Linked DNA regions of Homo sapiens: all the other regions are linked to region 5. The links are contacts of gene promoters, found by promoter capture Hi-C in blood cells and fetal thymus (Javierre and others, 2016). All regions are on one chromosome and are shown on one strand. The core of a region is centred on a gene start or on the middle of the fragment in contact, and the rest is flanking DNA. Distances in the headings are between cores, read along the strand shown. Region 1 overlaps TPR (translocated promoter region, nuclear basket protein). Region 2 has its middle 6.2 kb from the start of PRG4. Region 3 overlaps TPR (translocated promoter region, nuclear basket protein). Region 4 overlaps TPR (translocated promoter region, nuclear basket protein). Region 5 holds the start of TRMT1L (tRNA methyltransferase 1L). Region 6 overlaps ODR4 (odr-4 GPCR localization factor homolog).

The links. The method cuts DNA at HindIII sites, captures the fragments that hold promoters and counts their contacts. A CHiCAGO score of 5 or more calls a contact.
Region 1: a contact is called between a fragment that was not itself captured here and the fragment with the promoter of TRMT1L in region 5, in 2 of 17 cell types (fetal thymus and activated CD4 T cells). The highest score is 6.0, in fetal thymus.
Region 2: a fragment that was not itself captured here is called in contact with the fragment with the promoter of TRMT1L in region 5 in 1 of 17 cell types (naive CD4 T cells); the score reaches 6.5 in naive CD4 T cells.
Region 3: a contact is called between a fragment that was not itself captured here and the fragment with the promoter of TRMT1L in region 5, in 4 of 17 cell types (non-activated CD4 T cells, total CD4 T cells, total B cells and 1 more). The highest score is 6.3, in non-activated CD4 T cells.
Region 4: a contact is called between a fragment that was not itself captured here and the fragment with the promoter of TRMT1L in region 5, in 2 of 17 cell types (total B cells and naive CD8 T cells). The highest score is 6.3, in total B cells.
Region 6: a contact is called between a fragment that was not itself captured here and the fragment with the promoter of TRMT1L in region 5, in 2 of 17 cell types (activated CD4 T cells and total CD8 T cells). The highest score is 10.0, in activated CD4 T cells.

The regions. Positions count from the first base shown.
Region 1 is chr1:186,315,281-186,318,124 of GRCh38, reverse strand. TPR (translocated promoter region, nuclear basket protein) reads left to right here. Exons shown (of 51, transcript NM_003292.3): 49 at 525-643. Among named protein-coding and RNA genes, the nearest start is that of PRG4, 20 kb to the right of the region's middle. The HindIII fragment of the contact is 5,178 bases long and covers 1-2,844 here.
Region 2 is chr1:186,288,488-186,291,583 of GRCh38, reverse strand. No RefSeq gene overlaps it. Among named protein-coding and RNA genes, the nearest start is that of PRG4, 6.2 kb to the left of the region's middle. The HindIII fragment of the contact is 625 bases long and covers 989-1,613 here.
Region 3 is chr1:186,338,071-186,340,966 of GRCh38, reverse strand. It overlaps TPR (translocated promoter region, nuclear basket protein), which reads left to right. Exons shown (of 51, transcript NM_003292.3): 30 at 1,195-1,325; 31 at 2,724-2,896. Among named protein-coding and RNA genes, the nearest start is that of TPR, 36 kb to the left of the region's middle. The HindIII fragment of the contact is 786 bases long and covers 1,044-1,829 here.
Region 4 is chr1:186,367,980-186,371,173 of GRCh38, reverse strand. It overlaps TPR (translocated promoter region, nuclear basket protein), which reads left to right. Exons shown (of 51, transcript NM_003292.3): 3 at 131-204; 4 at 3,192-3,194. Among named protein-coding and RNA genes, the nearest start is that of TPR, 5.7 kb to the left of the region's middle. The HindIII fragment of the contact is 1,085 bases long and covers 1,344-2,428 here.
Region 5 is chr1:185,155,324-185,158,331 of GRCh38, reverse strand. It overlaps TRMT1L (tRNA methyltransferase 1L), which reads left to right and starts at 1,379. Exons shown (of 15, transcript NM_030934.5): 1 at 1,379-1,854. The coding sequence starts at 1,620. It overlaps SWT1 (SWT1 RNA endoribonuclease homolog), which reads right to left and starts at 1,165. Exons shown (of 19, transcript NM_017673.7): 1 at 1,018-1,165. RefSeq lists silencers at 773-892, 1,633-1,882 and enhancers at 1,433-1,542, 1,386-2,291. The HindIII fragment of the contact is 11,948 bases long and covers 1-3,008 here.
Region 6 is chr1:186,385,253-186,388,365 of GRCh38, reverse strand. ODR4 (odr-4 GPCR localization factor homolog) reads right to left here. Exons shown (of 14, transcript NM_017847.6): 4 at 2,283-2,378. Among named protein-coding and RNA genes, the nearest start is that of ODR4, 11 kb to the right of the region's middle. The HindIII fragment of the contact is 1,570 bases long and covers 579-2,148 here.

The sequences.
Region 1 (2,844 bases), core at 5-2,504, 1.2 Mb before region 5:
ATGTTATTCTTGTACTGTCTCCCTCATTTGTGTCTTGAATGGAAGAGAGAAAGATGGATGTAGCCACTGAGCCAGGAATTTTACATACCCATAGCCTATCTCATCTGGGCTAGAGCCCGTGGTTTGGTTACTGGTATACTATTTAGTAGTGTGACTGTTGTGAACTTTTTATAGTACTGTGCTTTCCTAAAATGTTGTTTTGAGATTTATCAAAATCTGGACCATATATTTCTTATGAGTGTCAAGAATGTGAACATCCTTGTCAAAAGGAAACATAAGAAGAGGAAAATCATAAACTAAAATTGGAACATGTCATAGTGAGAAAAGGAATGAGGAAAAAACAATTTGAGCTCTTTTCCCCCCTGCTCCTTTGAAAAATATATATGGTAACCAAATCAGTCTATAATTTTTTGTTTAAGGGAGCTCTGGATTACTTAAGTGATAAAATAGATTTAAAAGAGTGGATATAATTTATGATTGACTGTAGGATCAGTTTTGTATTTTCTCATTTTTCTTTTCCTTAGTATTAGTTCAGAAGCAGGCCTAGAAATTGATAGCCAGCAGGAAGAAGAGCCGGTTCAAGCATCTGATGAGTCAGATCTCCCCTCCACCAGCCAGGATCCTCCTTCTAGCTCATCTGTAGGTGAGTCCCTGCCCTTGACTGCAATACAGTTTTTATACATCAAACTTGTTTGTGAAAACACTGCTTTATTAGTAACAAATTAATAATCCTTTTTTCCTGTATTTTAAAATGCTTTATTTAAAAGAGAAATTTTATTATTAAAAGGAACTTGGTTTATATTGAAATAATTATTCTAAGAATATTCTGGCATCAATAATAAGAAATATGGACATGGTGGATCCATCCCAAAAGAATAGCTCACTCATGTTTCATCTAGACTATTGGTTGTCAACATATGTTTTGTAGAGCTCTTGGGTCTTTTAGAGGTGCTACAGGGGTTGTAGTGGGTGGGTATACTGGGAGGGAGGCTAAGGAGTGCTAGGGCACTCCAGGCCTCTTGCCTCTGTTTGAACCACAGCAGCTCCATTTTTATGTGTTCTACATATTGGGGTTCTACATGAGATTTGATGTGGAGAGTTAAGGGGTAAGAGCTCAGTTGCTTAAAAAAATTGTTTGAAATTTACTGATGTAAACAGTTTCAGAGTTTGGCTTTTCAAATTTTTGAAGTTATTTTGAAAAAAAGATATGTATTATTCCTGTAATAGAAGTTATTTTTTAGAATAACAGTTAGCATTTACTGAACACTTAACTGTGTATCATGTAGTATTCTGAGCCCTTTACTTATATTTCCTTATTTGATTCTCGCAACTCAGTGCGGTAGATATTCATCCACATTTTATAGATATGGAAGCTGAGGCACAGAAAGGGTGAATAACCTCTTCAAAGTCAAATAGCTAATAAGTAACGGACAAGCAACGATTACACTGAAGAAGTCTGGCTCCAGAGACCCCACTCTTGAACAATACACTATACTAGCTCATCTATCTCAAATTTTTAGACAGAGAATTACCTTTACTATTAAGGATATACAGTACTTGGTCATTCAGTCTGATTATTTTAATTTTTAATTGTTTACAGTGGTAATTCTCAAACTCTGCCATGGAACCTTCAGATTTTATGGCAGACCTGCTCAGTTATTTATTACTTTTTTAAATCACAGAACTTTGCTATCCCAAAATCTCTTCCCCTGATTCTCAGCTGCTTTGATGTGACACATCAGCCTATTGGTTAATATCCCTAATATCTACCGTTTCATATCTGGTAACTTTAAATTTCTATACATTATGTAATATGGATACTCATAACTAATCTTGCAATCAGGATTTAAAATAATGTATGTAAATTACAGAACCATTTCATACGCAGTAAGGCTTAAAAAATGTATAACAATCATATTAATGATTACTGAAGTTTTGTGCCCCCAGTTATATTTTGACGTCCCATAAAAATTGGCTTTCCTCAATAGAATTAGCACTTGTTATATCTTATCAGAGCTTGTATGAGAAAATATGGTTGTTTCCTTTAAAGTATAATATGAAATTACGATGTCTTTAAATTTATTTGATAATGTAAAACTGTACTTCCCCCATCTGAGTATTCATTTGGTCAACAAATATTTGACAGTGTAGCAGGCAGTTTCATAGGAAGCATCACTAAGAGAAGGTGACATTTAAGAGCTGAAAGAAGAAAGGGATCAAAGCTGTGCAGTTACTTAATGAAGAGCATACTAGATCAAAGAGAATATTAATAGATGCCAAGTCCATAAGGCAGCAGTGTGTCTGCTTGTGTTCAGGGTCAACAAGGAGGCCACTGTGGCTGGAGCACAGTGAGTGAGAACAGAGAGTAGCAGGAGATATGTTAAGAGGCGGGAGAGGATAGATCGAGTAGATCATTGTAATTGCCTTGGCTGTCATGGATACCAGAAGCTATTGGAGGGCTTCACACAGAATAATGACATGACATGATCTGATCAGTTTGGCTGCTGCATACAGAAGAGATTAAAAATGAATAATGGACAGAAACGAGAAACTTTGGAGGCTACTGCAGTAAGTCAGGAAAAGATAGTAATGGCTTAGGTGAGATGGTAGAGTTAGGATTGTGAGAAGTTGTCAGATTTGGGATATATATTTAAATTTGAGCATTCATGATTTGCTAATGATTGCATTTGGGGTGTCTGAAAAAGAATCAGATATAATTTGTGTTCTGTTGTAGGCTGTTTGCTGAGGGACTTGATATTTTGTTTTCTGTTGTATTTCTCAGCACCTGGCAGTATGTTTGATACATGGGTAGTCAACAAGTAAATATTTATTAATATAAGTGAA
Region 2 (3,096 bases), core at 52-2,551, 1.1 Mb before region 5:
ATGATTCTAAAGCTGCACACAAACTGTTATGGAAACATAGATGAGGAACTGCCAACTCTACCCAAGGAATTCTTTGCAGATGAATGACATATAATCTGGAATCTAAAGGCTCCTACGGCTAAAAACTGGGACAGTAGCCAAAGGTGACAATAAGAGAAAAAATAATATAGCTCCACTTTTTCATTCTTCTTACCTACTTGTTCTTTAGTTCCTGATAACGTGGCTTTTTCTTCCTCCAAAACAGGGCTTTGTGAGATAAAAAGTAACCTTAAAATCATTCTAGTATAGCCTTTTACTAATGGGCCATTTTAGTAACCTAATAATAATAGAAAACATGTGTTGAGTGTTTATTTTGTTACATGGCATAAATGTATGACTTTATTGGGCCTCACAGTAATTTTTTTTTTGTTGTTGTTGAGACGGAGTCTCACTCTGTCACCAGGGTGGAGTGCAGTGGCGTGATCTTGGCTCACTGCGACCTCTGCCTCCCGGGTTCAAGCAATTGTCCTGCCTCAGCCTCCGGAGCAGCTGGGACTACAGCCGCCCGCCACCACGCCCAGCTAATTTTTGTATTTTTAGTAGAGATGGGGTTTCACTATGTTGACCTTGTAATCCACCTTCCTTGGCCTCCCAAAGTGCTGAGATTACAGGCGTGAGCCACCGTGCCCGGCTGAGCCTCACAGTAATCTTATGACATAATAGTTATTATTATTCATCCCATTTGACATTTGAGATTATCTGAGGCATAGAAAAGATAAATAATATGTTCAAGATTAAAAAGCTAAAAAGCCAATAAATGATAAATTTAGTATCTTAACCCAACCCTTGTCTGACTCCAAAGCCCATGATTTTAACCAACTCAATGACCCACGTGCTATAATATCCACGGTTAGTAATTTCCTTCTTTGTGCTCCTATGTAACTATTTGCATCTCTAAAACGGCATCTCACTCTTATCAATATCCATCTTTCTCACTATGCTGTAAGCTTCTTAAGATTTCAGAATGATTACATTTTGTAGCTTTTTCACAGCTAGCATGGCTTCTTCTCATACGTGATAAACTTAGGTTTACTGTCTTTCTTCTAACGGCCACTTTGCCATCATATGTCTGATTTCTAATCCAAATTGCTGCAGTATTGTGATCATTCAAGTCCGCATCACTTGGGTTCCAGATGTCAAGGAAGCATACTATGTGACAGCTCAGACAGGAACATTACTGACTTATTTTCCAGTAGCCAACAACATGAGTAATTTCCAACATGAGTGAGTGAAAGTGAATTGGGGTGCTATAACTCAGTATGACAAATACTTCATAATTGGGAAATTCAGAGAGTGGGAGCAAAGCCTGGGTGTGGTTGAAGGACCCATAGATAGGTGGGATAAGAGGGAAGTATCCCAAGAGACATTGTAGAAGACATTTCATTGAGTCATTCCAAAGCAGGAACACCAGGCTCTTTAAAGATATTGAGTATAATGCAGTATTGGCTGATTGCATAGTATTGCATAATAATCCATTTAAAATCCCTTTCCCCGTGATGGCAGCTAATTTCTATCAAAAGGATTAAGAAGCAGGACATTTGCAACAATTGTCTCCATGGAGCTTATGTTAAGCTTGATACAGAAAACTCAATCAGAAGATTAAAATTCAACATTTCCTCCTTTCTTTTGGTTGATTGCTTATGAAACAAGACTCCAGAGTATCTCTATATCTCTGGTAGCTCAATAAATGTTCTTGAATGAATTAACGAATAAATGTCACTGCTAATATTAGCACTTGCTCTGCCTGTCCCTTGGACTGGGGAAAAGGGCTTTGGTATTGACAAGCACTTGGGTTCATTGTATGTGTAACTTAGACCTCAAGATTCTTGAGGGGATGGAGAGCAGACACAGCATAAACGGCTACCTATTTATCCTTTTATTTGTATTCTGCTGTTTGTGCAAAGAAAATATTTATGGGAGGGGCACTGATAGAGACCAGACCCTTTGTTCCTCCAAGTCCTCCTCAGAGTAATATAGTAGAAAGCTTTGTTCTTTACAGAGGCAAACTCAGAGTCACAGCTATGCCTTGAGGAGTCCTATACCAGGCTTTGGACAACACCTCCACAAACCATCAACATTTATTAAGTATCAGCTAGGTGCCAGACATTTATTCTGATTAAAGCAAAACAAACATAAACAAAATAAAAATAAGGATAAATTCCTTTTTTTCATGCAGCTTGTATTGTATTTTACCTTTAAAATAAATTCTTAGGAGTGGGAACATCTTCATAATTCTTGATAAATATCAACAAATTATCTTGCAGTTTAGATTGTAAATTCATCAAAGGCAAGGATATGTTGTATCCCCAGCACTTAGTAGAGGACTTGGCACATAAGTGTTTGATAATATATCAGATTGAATTTAATGAAACTGTAGGATTGCCATTAAAAATTCTTTTTCTCCTAAAAATGAATTTGGTGCTTAGAGACACATACTGCTTCTTCTTTGGGACAGCATGCATTAATAGGCACGAGACTGAACTGATGGATGTGGCCTGTGTAGGCTGAAAAACCCAGCAAGGTAAGAAACAGTGCTGGGAAACAAATGACTTCTCAGAACTGAGAAAAGTTATGATCAGCCCGCCAAAGCACTGAAAACAGGAACTGCTCTTTACTTTGATCGTTTTTTCTGTTTTTTTTTTTTTTTTTCGAGACAGAGTCTCGCTCTGTCTCCCAGGCTGGAGAGCAGTGGCGCCATCTCGGCTCACTGCAAGCTCCGCCTCCCGGGTTCAAGCCATTCTCCTGCCTCAGCCTCCCGAGTAGCTGGGACTACAGGCGCCCGCCACCACGCCCGGCTAATTTTTTGTATTTTTAGTAGAGACAGGGTTTCACCGTGTTATCCGGGATGGTCAGGAGACCTCGTGATTCGCCCGTCTAGGCCTCCCAAAGTGCTGGGATCACAGGCGTGGGTTCACCGCACCTGGCCCTCTAGTTTGTTTTTTTAATCTTAAAGCACATTGCTATAGATATGAATGCTAGCAGAAGAACACAGGAGGTCAAAGTTTAGGAGAGTAGCCAAAAACTAATTTTTTTCCCAACACCCTTTATCTCTTCCAT
Region 3 (2,896 bases), core at 187-2,686, 1.2 Mb before region 5:
TTAGGGGAATAAAAATATTTGAGGAACTAGTGAAAATTACTGTGTTTATTAGTGAAAGTCTATTATGTTATTAATACATGTAAATACGTGACAGATGTTAAACTTATAACCCAATTTATAAAAAATTTTGGTTATATTATATATATTTCTAAAAAGCAGTTATTTTCCATAATTTTAAAGTTTTAGCCTTTCATTTTATCTCTAAAATATTTTTATACATGAAAATAGAAATCTGAGGCCAGACACGGTGGCTCATGCCTGTAATCCCAGCACTTTCGGAAGCCAAGATGGGAGGATTGCTTGAGCCCAGAAGTTTGAGACCAGCCTGGGCAATGTAGTGAGACTCCAACTCTACAAAAAATTAAAAATTAGCTGGGCGTGGTGGTACATGCCTGTAGTCCCATCTACTTGGGAGGCTGAGGTCAGAGGATTACTTGAGCCCAGGAGGTCGAAGCTGCAGTGAGTTGTGATCATGCCACTGCATGCTAGCCTGGGTGAGAGAGGGAGACCCTGTCTCAAAAAAAAAAAGCAAAATAGGAATCTGTATAATTTATTGAATTTATTAAAGCACTTTAAAAAGACTTGTTCACTGGAACGTTTTTAGGGAGATGAAACCATGTAACATACTGTGGTTCGAAACTCCAGCCCTTTATTCAAACAAAAGGTTAGAAATCTGCCTTGCATGTATTATTTATATGACTTGGGAGAGTTTCTTAACCTCTTGGAGCTTTAGTTTTCCCTTATCACCTTTCGTGTGATAAAAATTTAACAAATGTGAAGCACATTACCTGGCATCTACAGAAGGTTTGTGTGTTTAACTTGTAATGCATTGTCTATATTTTTTTTCTTGTAAATGTCACTTCAATGAAATTAGGTACTTAATATTGAAAGTTTTGATTCTTCAGATCCCTTTATTTGGCTTCATTGTAACTAATATGAAATGTTTATTCACAAATATGAAAAAATAATGAACATTTAATGACATTTTATTTTTTTTTCCTCTTGTATTGTGGGTAGACTTCTTAGCCAAACAAGCCAAAGCTTAGTTTGATCTTAGTATCTTGTAGTTCCATGCTTGATTACTTTACATGCAGGACACCTAATATAAACATAATCAGATATTCTGCCATTTTATTATAGCACATTTGTTTCATAAAACCTAAAAAAATCAAGTATGCATTTTTGTTATTCTAGCATCTAGTAAGTCAACAGAAAGATCCAGATACAGAAGAATATCGGAAGCTCCTTTCTGAAAAGGAAGTTCATACTAAGCGTATTCAACAATTGACAGAAGAAATTGGTAGACTTAAAGCTGAAATTGCAAGGTATATGGAAAGAAGCCTTAAATCATATATAATATAAAAGAAGTTTATTTTACTTATTTACATGACTCCCCAAGTGCCTGCCTCCTGGTTTTAGAAAGAATGGAAAGTGCTAGAGCACCTATATCTGACTTCCATCTACTTTGTAGAGTCAAGCAGTGATTTAATATTATGCCTTTGTATATAAAATATATATGAGACTATCCTCATAATTATTTCTCTATATTTTATTTTTTAAAGAGCTACTCAGAAGTCTAAAGCTAAATTTACAGCTATCAAAAACTTACAAGGAGGTTTTTTTTTTCTTTTGGTTAGCTTATATTTGTGACTCTATAAGGGAAGTGGGTTTTATTACTTTGGCTTTTGTGTTCCTTTTTGTGGAGAACAGTGTTTCCCTCTGTTGCCCAGGCTGGTCTCAAACTCCTGGGCTCAAGCTGTCCTCCCACTTCTGCCTCCCTAAGTGCTGGGATTACAGGCATGAGCCATCATGCCTGGCCAAGGGAAGCTTGTAAGTCTAATTTTTTCTCACATGAACTAATAGCAAAGTATTGCCCCTTTAAAATTAAGAAATTAAACATTAAAATTAATGTTTCTGGTTTACCTTTTGTAAGCTTTAGTGTAATTTGTCCATATCATGGTCCCATTTATATATTGCTTTACAACTTACAAATTTTTGTGATATATATACGTACATTCTCTTTATAGCAATCATCTAGCATGTTAAGTAGGAGAGTTATATTTTAATCTTAAAAATGAGGAGCCTAAGATTCAAAAAGATTGACTACCTAATTCAGGCCATCTGATTTCAAGTTCAGTTCAGAATTAACCCATACTCTTAATTCAGGCCATCTGATTTCAAGTTCAGTTCAGGATATAGGACAGGGGTTGGCAAACTGTAGCCCATAGACCAAATGTGGCCCATGATTTGGTTTTGTACAGCCTATAAGCTAAGAATGATTTTTATATTTTTAAAGCATTGTTTAAGAAAAATACAGCAAAGACTTTGTGGCTTGCAAAGCATAACATTCTATCCGGCCCTTTTACAGAAAAAATTTGACAATACTCAGTGCAGTAGGAAGAGGGTAGGTTTTGCTCTTAAAGCAAGTCTGAATTAAAATCTGGGTACCATCACTTGATTTTAGTTTGTAAAATTGCGCATGTTACTTGACCATTGGTAGCTCTGTTTTTCTCATCTCTAAAATGTGCATGTAAACCTATGTAATAAGATCTTGCCGAAGGGCTGTAAATTCGTAAGGTCTTACCTTTGAAGTATATGGGTATTTTTTAGGATTTTCAAAAAAAAAAGTTATTAAAGCAGTATAACATAAAGTTACATTGGACTTCAAACTTTGAAAAATGTCTCATATATTTAATCTTTCTTCTTTCCTCCATTTTTTAAAGATCAAATGCATCTTTGACTAACAACCAGAACTTAATTCAGAGTCTGAAGGAAGATCTAAATAAAGTAAGAACTGAAAAGGAAACCATCCAGAAGGACTTAGATGCCAAAATAATTGATATCCAAGAAAAAGTCAAAACTATTACTCAAGTTAAGAAAATTGGACGTAGGTACA
Region 4 (3,194 bases), core at 637-3,136, 1.2 Mb before region 5:
TGTACAATGCAGTCTTTCTGGGCTTCTGTTTTTTCATTTATTAAAATATGTAAGGTTGGCAGTTGCATAAAAACACTCATTGCAAGTTTTAAGCAAATGTGTATGTATTCATAAAATTCCTTTTATCCAGACAATCAACTGAAGGCACTAACTGAGAAAAACAAAGAACTTGAAATTGCTCAGGATCGCAATATTGCCATTCAGGTAAGAGATATTTCTTAGAATAAGCTCATTGTAGACATTTTACTTGAAGGGACATTCTATTCTGATTGTTTATCAGTTATTAGTCAATGGGAAGATGTAACTGATGTCCTATTAGGGGAAGCTACCAACAAAAATATGTAAATATAAATTCCTTAATTGGATCTATGTTTTATTGATAGATTGGACATCTCTTTTATTCAACAGAAATTATCTATTGAATGCTGACTGTAGTCCAGGTATTATATCAAATGTGATACAGTTGGGAATTTGGGTGAATCCACATTGGTAGTCATTTCCTTAGGGTAGTTTTATAAGAATGACAGTTTGAATATGATCACAGGGATTGCTGACAAATTTGTTAATTAAAGTGGTTGCATGCAATTATTTTTTAACCAGATACAACTTTATACTTTTGCCATTGCTTTTTTAAAATTTGCATTTTATTTGGTGTTAAAAGATAATTTCTTCACATTTCTGAAGGGAAAAAAAAATTTACTTCCAGAATCTGAATAGGCGCAAAAAAGCCTCGTAGTATACCTAGAAAGGCTTTGTAAGAAATGTATTTATATGAAGAATGACTCAATACCCAAGAAAACTCAAATACTTCTCTGAAAACTGTGAGAATATACCTTTATAAATGAAGATATTGCAAATTTCTGGATGGAAATGTTTTCCAAATTAATGTGTTGGTAATACATTTTGACTCTTAAGTCCAAGTCAGATAGCCAGAAACTTGTTAATGTAGTTCTAAAGATGATTGGGGAAAAAAACATAGTAATAGCTAGGATGCTTCTAAAAAAAGGAAGTATCAATTTAAATTAAGTACTTGCATAGCCACATATTCAAGTTTTATAAAGCTATGGTTATTAAAATATTACAATGCTGATATAAAAATCAGTACAGAGAATAAAAGGCAGTCCAGAAATAAAACCCAATACGGAGGTTCTTAATCTTTTGGAAAGAAGCAGAGCTGTCACAAAATCTTTATAAATCTTGTAAAAACTATGGATCTGTAACCGAGGAAAATAGTGTGCACACAGTCACATAAAATTTTTCAGAAAAAAAAAACTATGAAGTGACTTAAAAAGTAATAGAATTTATTTAACTGCTTGGTGGCTGAAAGAAAGAAACTGAAAGCTTTTTCACTAAGATCCAATGCAAGGCTGGGATGCCCACTCACCACTTGTATTCAGTATAGTACTGGACGTACCAGCAAGAGCAATCAGACAAGAAAAGGAAATAAAATGCACCCAAATTGGAAAGGAAGAAATAAAATTATCTTTACTTATAGATTATATGATCCTATATGTAGAAAACCTGAAAGATTCCACAAAAACCTGTCAGAGCTAATAAGTGAATTTATACAATTGAAGGATACAAAATCAATATTAAAAAATCTAGTAGCATTTCTATACACAAACAATGACCTAGCTGAAAAAGAAATTAAGAAAAGATTTCATTAGAGTACCATCAAAAAACAACTTAGGAATAAATTTAACCTGGGAGGTGAAAGATTCATATACTGAAAATAATATAACATTGACGAAAGAAATTGAAGATGCAAATAATGGGAAAGATATACCATACTCATAGATAAGAAGAATTATATTGCTAAAATGTCCACACTATAAAGTGGTAAAAAGATTCAGGCCAATCCTGTCAGAATTCCAAAGGCATTCTTCGCAGAAATAGAAAAAAAAAATTCTGAAATTCTGATGGAATCAGTTTTAAAAATCCTGAATAATAACCAAAGCAGTACTGAGCAAGAAAAACAAAGTTGGAGGCATCATACTTCATGATTTAGAAAACTGTTATAAAACTATAGTAATCCAAATAGTACAGTACTGACATAAAAACAGAAAAGTGACCAATGGAATAGAATAGAGAGCCTAGAAATAAATCCAAACATATGGTCAACTAATTTCAACAAGGGTGCCAAGAAGACCCAATGGAGTTGTGATCGTCTCCTCATTAATGGTGTTGAGAAGACTGGATTTCCACATTTGAAGAAATGAATGTTGGATGTTTGTGTTGCTTACATCATATACCGAAATCAAGCCAAGATGGATGAAAGATCTAAATGTAAGACCTGAAGCCATAAAACTCAGAGAAGTGAACATAGGGGAAAGGTTCTTGACATTGGCCTTGGTAATGATTGTTTGGATCACATCAGTAGTTCAAGCTGCAAAAAGAAATAAACGGAACTACATCAAACTAAAAAGCTTCTACACAGGAAACAAGAATATTAAAAGGCAACCTACAGTTCTGACATAGGTAGCTTGAGATAGATATTTCTAACTCAAAAACATGTAGATTGCCATTGTTTTGCTGGGAAGCAGTTTGACAAGTTTTTTGTTTTTGAGACAGGGTCTCACTCTGTCACTCAGGCTAGAGTGCAGTGATGCAGTCTTGGCTCACTGCAACCTCTGCCTCCCGGGCTCAAATGATCATCCCACCTCAGCTTCCTGAGTAGGTGGGACCGCAGGCATGTGCCACCATGTCTGGCTGTTTTTTTCTACTTGTAGAGACTGGGTTTCGCTGTGTTGCCCAAGCTGGTCTTGAACTCCTAGACTCAAATGATCGGCCCAGCTTGATTTCCCAAAGTGCTGTGATTACAGGCATGAGCCACTGCACCTGGCTGACAAAATATATTAAAAGTTTTAAGTAATTCAATTTTTAGGAATCTTTCTTGAAAAATAATTTGAACTAAGGTGTAAATACAGTGATATTCTAAGTTATTAGGACATTTCCATGTGATTAAAAGAGATATGAGAAAAATTTTCATAAGCCTAGTAAAAATGTTTTAAAAATCCAAAATTTAAATAGAAACATTGGAATTACGGGTATTTTTTAACTTTGATGTGTAAGTTATAAGAGAAAGCCAGTCATTTACACTACAGCTGATGTTAACTAAAGTGACAATTCTATGTTCGCTTTCCTGTATTGCTCTACTTGATTTTCTTACTTATTACTTCTTTATATGACAGAGC
Region 5 (3,008 bases), core at 130-2,629:
AGAAGCTCCACAGGGATAATCTGTTCCCATTAAACTGGGGAGAGGTTAAACACACACACACACCCCTCCAGATATATACTTCTTAACTATAGGGGGAGGAGTTAATTTCCAGTTAGTGCTTCAAAGTGCCAAATAATCATGCTATCTCTTCCCCGGGGTTCTGAAACAAGTAGGAAACAAATAGACCAAGAAGATTGGCGTTTATCAACTTAATTAACTAAGAAAAGCTAACTGGAAGCGCGCGTCTTGTTCTTGAGACTAAATTGGGCTTCCCTCTCCTGCCCTGATGCCTAGAAGGTTCGGACCAAGCCCAAGCAGGGCAGCCAGAAAGTTCACGTTTTTCTCCTTTCTGTCCCAGTGGATTTATCGCGGGGGGACAGAAGAAAGAAACAAGAAAGGCTCGAATGTCAAGTAGGCACTAAGAGTGAAGGGGAGAGAAGTACGGGGGACAGGGGACTCGCTAGCATATGTTTTGGGGATCTGAAACGCATCAAAATTAAATGCCCCGAAGCTCTACCCACTCAGAGCTCTGGTTATTAAAAGCCTGAAAACAAAGCAAAATAGAGCAAAACAACTAATTTCTATCCACTGGCCACACCGCAGAACTGCTGATACTGGCAACATGAAGACTAAAGCAAAAATAAAAACAAAGGAAAAGAGTGTTCGGGTCACGGTGTAGGTGAGGGTGCGAAATGAAGAACAGACCCTAATTCCAAGTCAGCTGGATGGACAGGCAAGCTCGTCAGCTGCTAGTAAACCGCCGCGGGCCCGCGGGCTCCGCACGAACCGACCAGACCCCAACACCGGGCAAGGGGCAGCCCCGGAGGCAAGCCGGGCCAGAACCACACCCTCCACGGAGCTGGCTCGTCCCCGGACCCGCCCACAGAGTCGCCCCGCCCAGGTCCGTGTGACTCCTGAGTCCCCAGTCCGGCCGGCCGCCCGCCCGCCAGTATACTTGGGGCGGGGGACGAGGGGGAACCTGCCCAGCAAAACGTCAACGCACCCCGCAGTTCCTACCTTACCAGCGCCGGCGGCAGTGGCAACTCCGGAGCCCCAAGCCAAAGGAGAGGGACCCCCGCCTCCCAACACACACACACACCCCGCCCCACCAACTGTATGCCTGCTGGGAAACGTAGTTCTGCGCCCGCATCCGCACTACCTACTCACCGCCCCACAGCGCTCGCTTAGATTTGCATTTACTTCCTCCGAGGCTTGAACTCCGGCCCCGCCCCCAGACTGCGCAGTGTATCCTGGGTGCTGTAGTCTTTGTTCGGTTTGGTGGTTGGCCGGTGGGCCGGAGACGCACCGTAGAAACCGAACCCTCTTACCCAATTGGACGCCGTCCCCAGTACGCTTCTGCGCAGTTTGTGGTGGCGTCGTAACGCCTCGGGGAAAGGGAAGCGGACGGGCATCTGGAATCGCTGCCTCTGGCTTTCTGTTTTCTACTAACAGGATTTGGTCACTGGTTCTTCATCTTTTGTCTGTTGCACGCATCCCGCCCTCCCCACTTGCTTCCCCACTCCTTGGATCCAGCCCTGTGGGCATTCACGTCAGTTCTCTGACCCCGCCGTGAGCCCCGCTCCGGGTCCCCGGGCGGGCTTGGCACGGAGGCGGTAACTATGGAGAATATGGCGGAGGAGGAGCTGCTGCCCCTGGAGAAGGAGGAGGTGGAGGTGGCCCAGGTCCAGGTCCCGACCCCGGCCCGGGACTCGGCTGGGGTCCCAGCTCCGGCCCCGGATTCGGCTCTGGACTCGGCTCCGACTCCGGCCTCGGCTCCAGCCCCAGCCCCTGCCCTGGCCCAGGCTCCGGCCCTGTCCCCGTCCCTAGCCTCTGCCCCTGAGGAGGCTAAAAGCAGTAAGTGCAGAAGGCCCAGATCTTTCTGCTGCAGAAGAGAGAAAGTGCGCCTTGCTGGGAAGTAGGGGAGGCCCTTCACCGGGATGGTTTTTATGGGGCAAGGCAGGTTTAGGAAAATGGTGGGGAGGAAAGAGGGGCCCGTGTAGCGGCTAAAGCAGGGTTACAGAATGGGAGACGGCATCTTCATAAGCCTCGAGGATGTCACGGTGAGGGATATGCGGAGAGCAGGAATGCTGCAGATAGAAGGAAATAATGAGGTTAAGGGCTTTTTCTTAAAAGGGAGTCTTTTTAAGGTACAAAAATAGGAAGTTACACATAATTTGGTAGTTTCCCGCAGTCCAGTCTGCCATGGTTAACTAAGTTCTTTCAAATGTGACATAGTAACCGAGGCAACCTGTTTACGGTAGTAGATCCTAGCTGCCAACATTTCTAAACCATTACTGTCAACTAGCTTTTCTGCTTCGACAGCCACAAGGAGATGAGTTTTTCTCATTTCAGTTTTCTTTTCCCCCGCTAGCAGCTTGCCTCCGAAAAGATTTTGAGGCTGAGTAGTAGTTTAGGAAAGAGTCGACTAAATTTACGGATGTTTTCCCCCATACATAAATACCAATTGAGTTTTGTACTCCATTCCATCAGAAATAGACTGTTGAGAATTAATGGCCCATATTATTGTGCTTCTGAATGTGCCTGCATGTTTTCTAAGTGGTGGTTTATTGGACCATATAGGAATTTAAAAGACTGATGAGTAACACTTTCTTAAGGATCTTCTAACATTTTAAAATGTAAGGTCTAAGAAAGACATAATTTAAGTTCTTTTAACATTTAGTTTGTGGTCATAAGTTGACCTTTATGTGCTTTCTGAATTGGAACTTAAAATAATCTTTAATTCATTATTTTTTCTACTTCTAGGCCAGTTTTGAGTTTAATATTTATAAAAGGTTAGATAGTTATAGATAGGATTATTTTGCAGTTTTGAAACAACATACAAATTGTTATAGATTTCAGAGTAGGGCTAATCACAGGAAAGACAAAAGTCAGAATGCTTCAGGTAAGCCCCTTCTCATTATATAAGATCAGAGCTTGTAGGTACAAAATAAGGCCAGTTGTTTCTTCAACTACAGTGGGTAGGGATCGGGGAGGCATGGGGAGCTGAG
Region 6 (3,113 bases), core at 114-2,613, 1.2 Mb before region 5:
TGTCCCCAACTCTCATTTAGCTTTAAAATTCCATGATTCTTTATTTATTGGAGAAGGGGTCTCACTATGTTGCTCAAGCTGGCCTTGAACACCTGGGCTCAAGTGATTCTCTCACCTCAGCTTCCCAAGTAACTGGGACTACAGGTGTGTGCCACCATTAATTTTTCTTTTCTTCAAATTAAAGACTGGAGCTAATTACTAACATTTTTGAATTCCTTTTAGGAAATTACAGAAAAATTGGGTTTAAATAAAAAAATTTAATTCACTATCATTAGAGATTAACTGGACACAAAAAATTAATTTGGGGCAACTAGAATTTATATAAACTATAGAACAGAGACTTTAATTAGAATGAGAAATGATAAGTGATTTTAACTAAAGAAATCAAGCATGTCACCCATTTAGCATTTCTTATTTAAACGTCACACAAGACTTAAGGCAATATATAACAACATATAAAATATAGTAATAACAAATTGAAAGTTAAAGTAGAATAGTGAGATAAATTTGTGTCAGAAATAAGAATTATAAAAATGCATACTTGATGTAAGGGGTGGTAATACATTTCGGTCTAAGCTTTCTAACAATAATGTGCAGAGAGAAATCTAATCTGTAACCTAATTCACATGGTCTGTAAGCTAAAAACAATCATCAGAGGAGGCACAACCTTCTTCATAATATAAAAAGAAATTCTTCCGGAAACACAATATTAATGTAATATGATGAATAAAGTCCTTAACAATAATGGGTGACACTGACAAGTTTTATAAGGCTGTTTCTTGTAGTGTTTGTCAGTGTAGCCAGTGGAAACAATTAGATAATTGAAACTCAGTAATGTCAGAGATAAAGCATTTCTAAAGTTTTATATACTTTTTAGGAACAAAAGATACAAAAGCAAGGAAAGTGGGCCTGGCTGTATCTCTCTAGCACTGGGCCCACATTCAACCCCCTCAATTCAGCACCAGCCAAAAAAGGTTGCACAATGAATGCTATTAATATTAAATACGCATAGATTTCGGTTAAATTTCAAAATGCCAAAGAGAATGAACAATTGTAAACAAGGTAAATTTATTTAAGATGGAAAAGTTGGCAGAGGGTTAAACAATTTAGCAGGGAGGAGAATATCTCCATTTTCTTCCCTTACTCCCTTAGGTGCAAATATCAAAGGCTTGAGGCTGGGACATCTGACAGGACAGGTTACAAGACTGAAAAAATCTGTAACATCTGAAGTTCTCAGCTGTATATTTTTTACCTAAAAAATGTTTTTCTGGGATACTGTTGGGGTTGGGTTTTATATGTCTCAAGATTTTAAGGTTCCCCCTCTTTTGGGGTATGAAATACCCTTCAAAAAGTTCATGTGGATCCTGAATGCTAAAAGAGCTGGCTACACAGAATCTACCTTAGGTTTGGGTTTAAGGGAAAACAGCATGTGGACCTTCATATTTACTTTTACACTATGTTACCCAATTCTCTGGTGCAGCAATTAAGCAAAAAACACAGGAGATTTCTGATAGATACTGTGTCCAGGAATAATCTGATTGTTTATGTTTTACTCTCAGGATCTCCGGAGAATTGAGAAGAAGGTAAAGAATTTCAGCACCTATTAATTTCATGTTACAGTAATCACTAGGTACTAAATGGAAGGTGTGACAGAATACTGCTATTGCATAAGAAAAACTGTTTAAAGCATTATAATTTGTTTCCTAATAGTCAGAAATTACCTCTAAAATAAAGATTATTTTAAAATATGTAGTTTTTCTGTCAAAAAGAATTACTTCCACAAAGATGCCTTTTTTACAACAAATTATTAGATCCAAGTGACTTTGAGTTCTTAATATTATAATTAATCATTTGAATTTTTCAATATTTTACAATGAATTATTTGTTTGCATAATTTACATGGAATTACTGTCATTAGTCATGGTTATTATTGAGAAGTAAATAATTTAACTTTTTAACTTGAGGAAAGAATAGCTTTTTCAAATTTGTATGAAATGCCATATGGGCTGATGATAGCCCTGTTTTGGGTAGTGTACTAAATAAAGAATAAAATTACCCATGGAAAAAATAATAAATAAAATGTGTAGTTTTTAAAAATATAAACATTTTTTACACTCAAGATATCCAAGCAATTGAGTGACAAAAGCTTTTTCAATGTAACCCCAACAAAAAGAATTATGGAAAACAAATGTAAATATGCCTAGAATCATTACACATACTCATAATCAGTAAAAATAACATATAACTGATTTCATTAAGAATTTTCGATATATCAAACTTACTCTACGCAGGGCATTTTGAAAATCATTTGCCAGTTCTAAAGTAGTAATAATAAATACTCCAAGAACTAAAAGTCCCCCTGGTAGCATTCTGGATACCTAAAAATAGAAATATATTATTAGCTAACAAATTGGCATTATATGCAATCCTTTCTGTTTGAGAAACTGTCTGCTTAGCATGTCCTTAGCTTTTCACCTTAAAACTACTTTATAAATAAAACTATCTGATAACAACATCCTTTAGCTACATCAATAAATAAATCCTTTTCTCAGGAGATCAAAGACTGAAATATTTTTTCAATGGCGTCCCACCATCAGCTAAATAAAATGAAGTTTTATTTTAGATTGATATTTCAGACTTTCTAGGATCTGGTCAATGATGTTTATACCCTCATTTGACACTACTTTTCCTCAAGTAATTCAAATATTTGTCAAAAACTACTTGAAAAGTAGTGTCAAATGAGGCTATAAACTGTTTTCCATACACATCCTAGGCTTTCTAACTATGTGTCTTTACTCAGGGTGTTCCCTAGGCCGAAACTGACTTTTTCTTATACTTCTGCATGTCTCAACCCTACTGGATACTTCAAAGGCAGCTTGAGGAAGCTGCCTTCTCTGATCTTTTCATCTCTGAACTCCGACAGGGCTTTGGTGTAGTTTTCCCATGGATTTTATCACATAGTCTTATATCATAGTTATCTGTGAACCCTACTAGTTGGTCAGGGAGCTCCTTAAGGGAATAAGTAATTCTACCTCTGTATCCCTATTTTTAGCAGCATACTAGATCTGGAATTTGAACAGAGGGAGTCTGACTTGAAAATCCATTATTTTCTA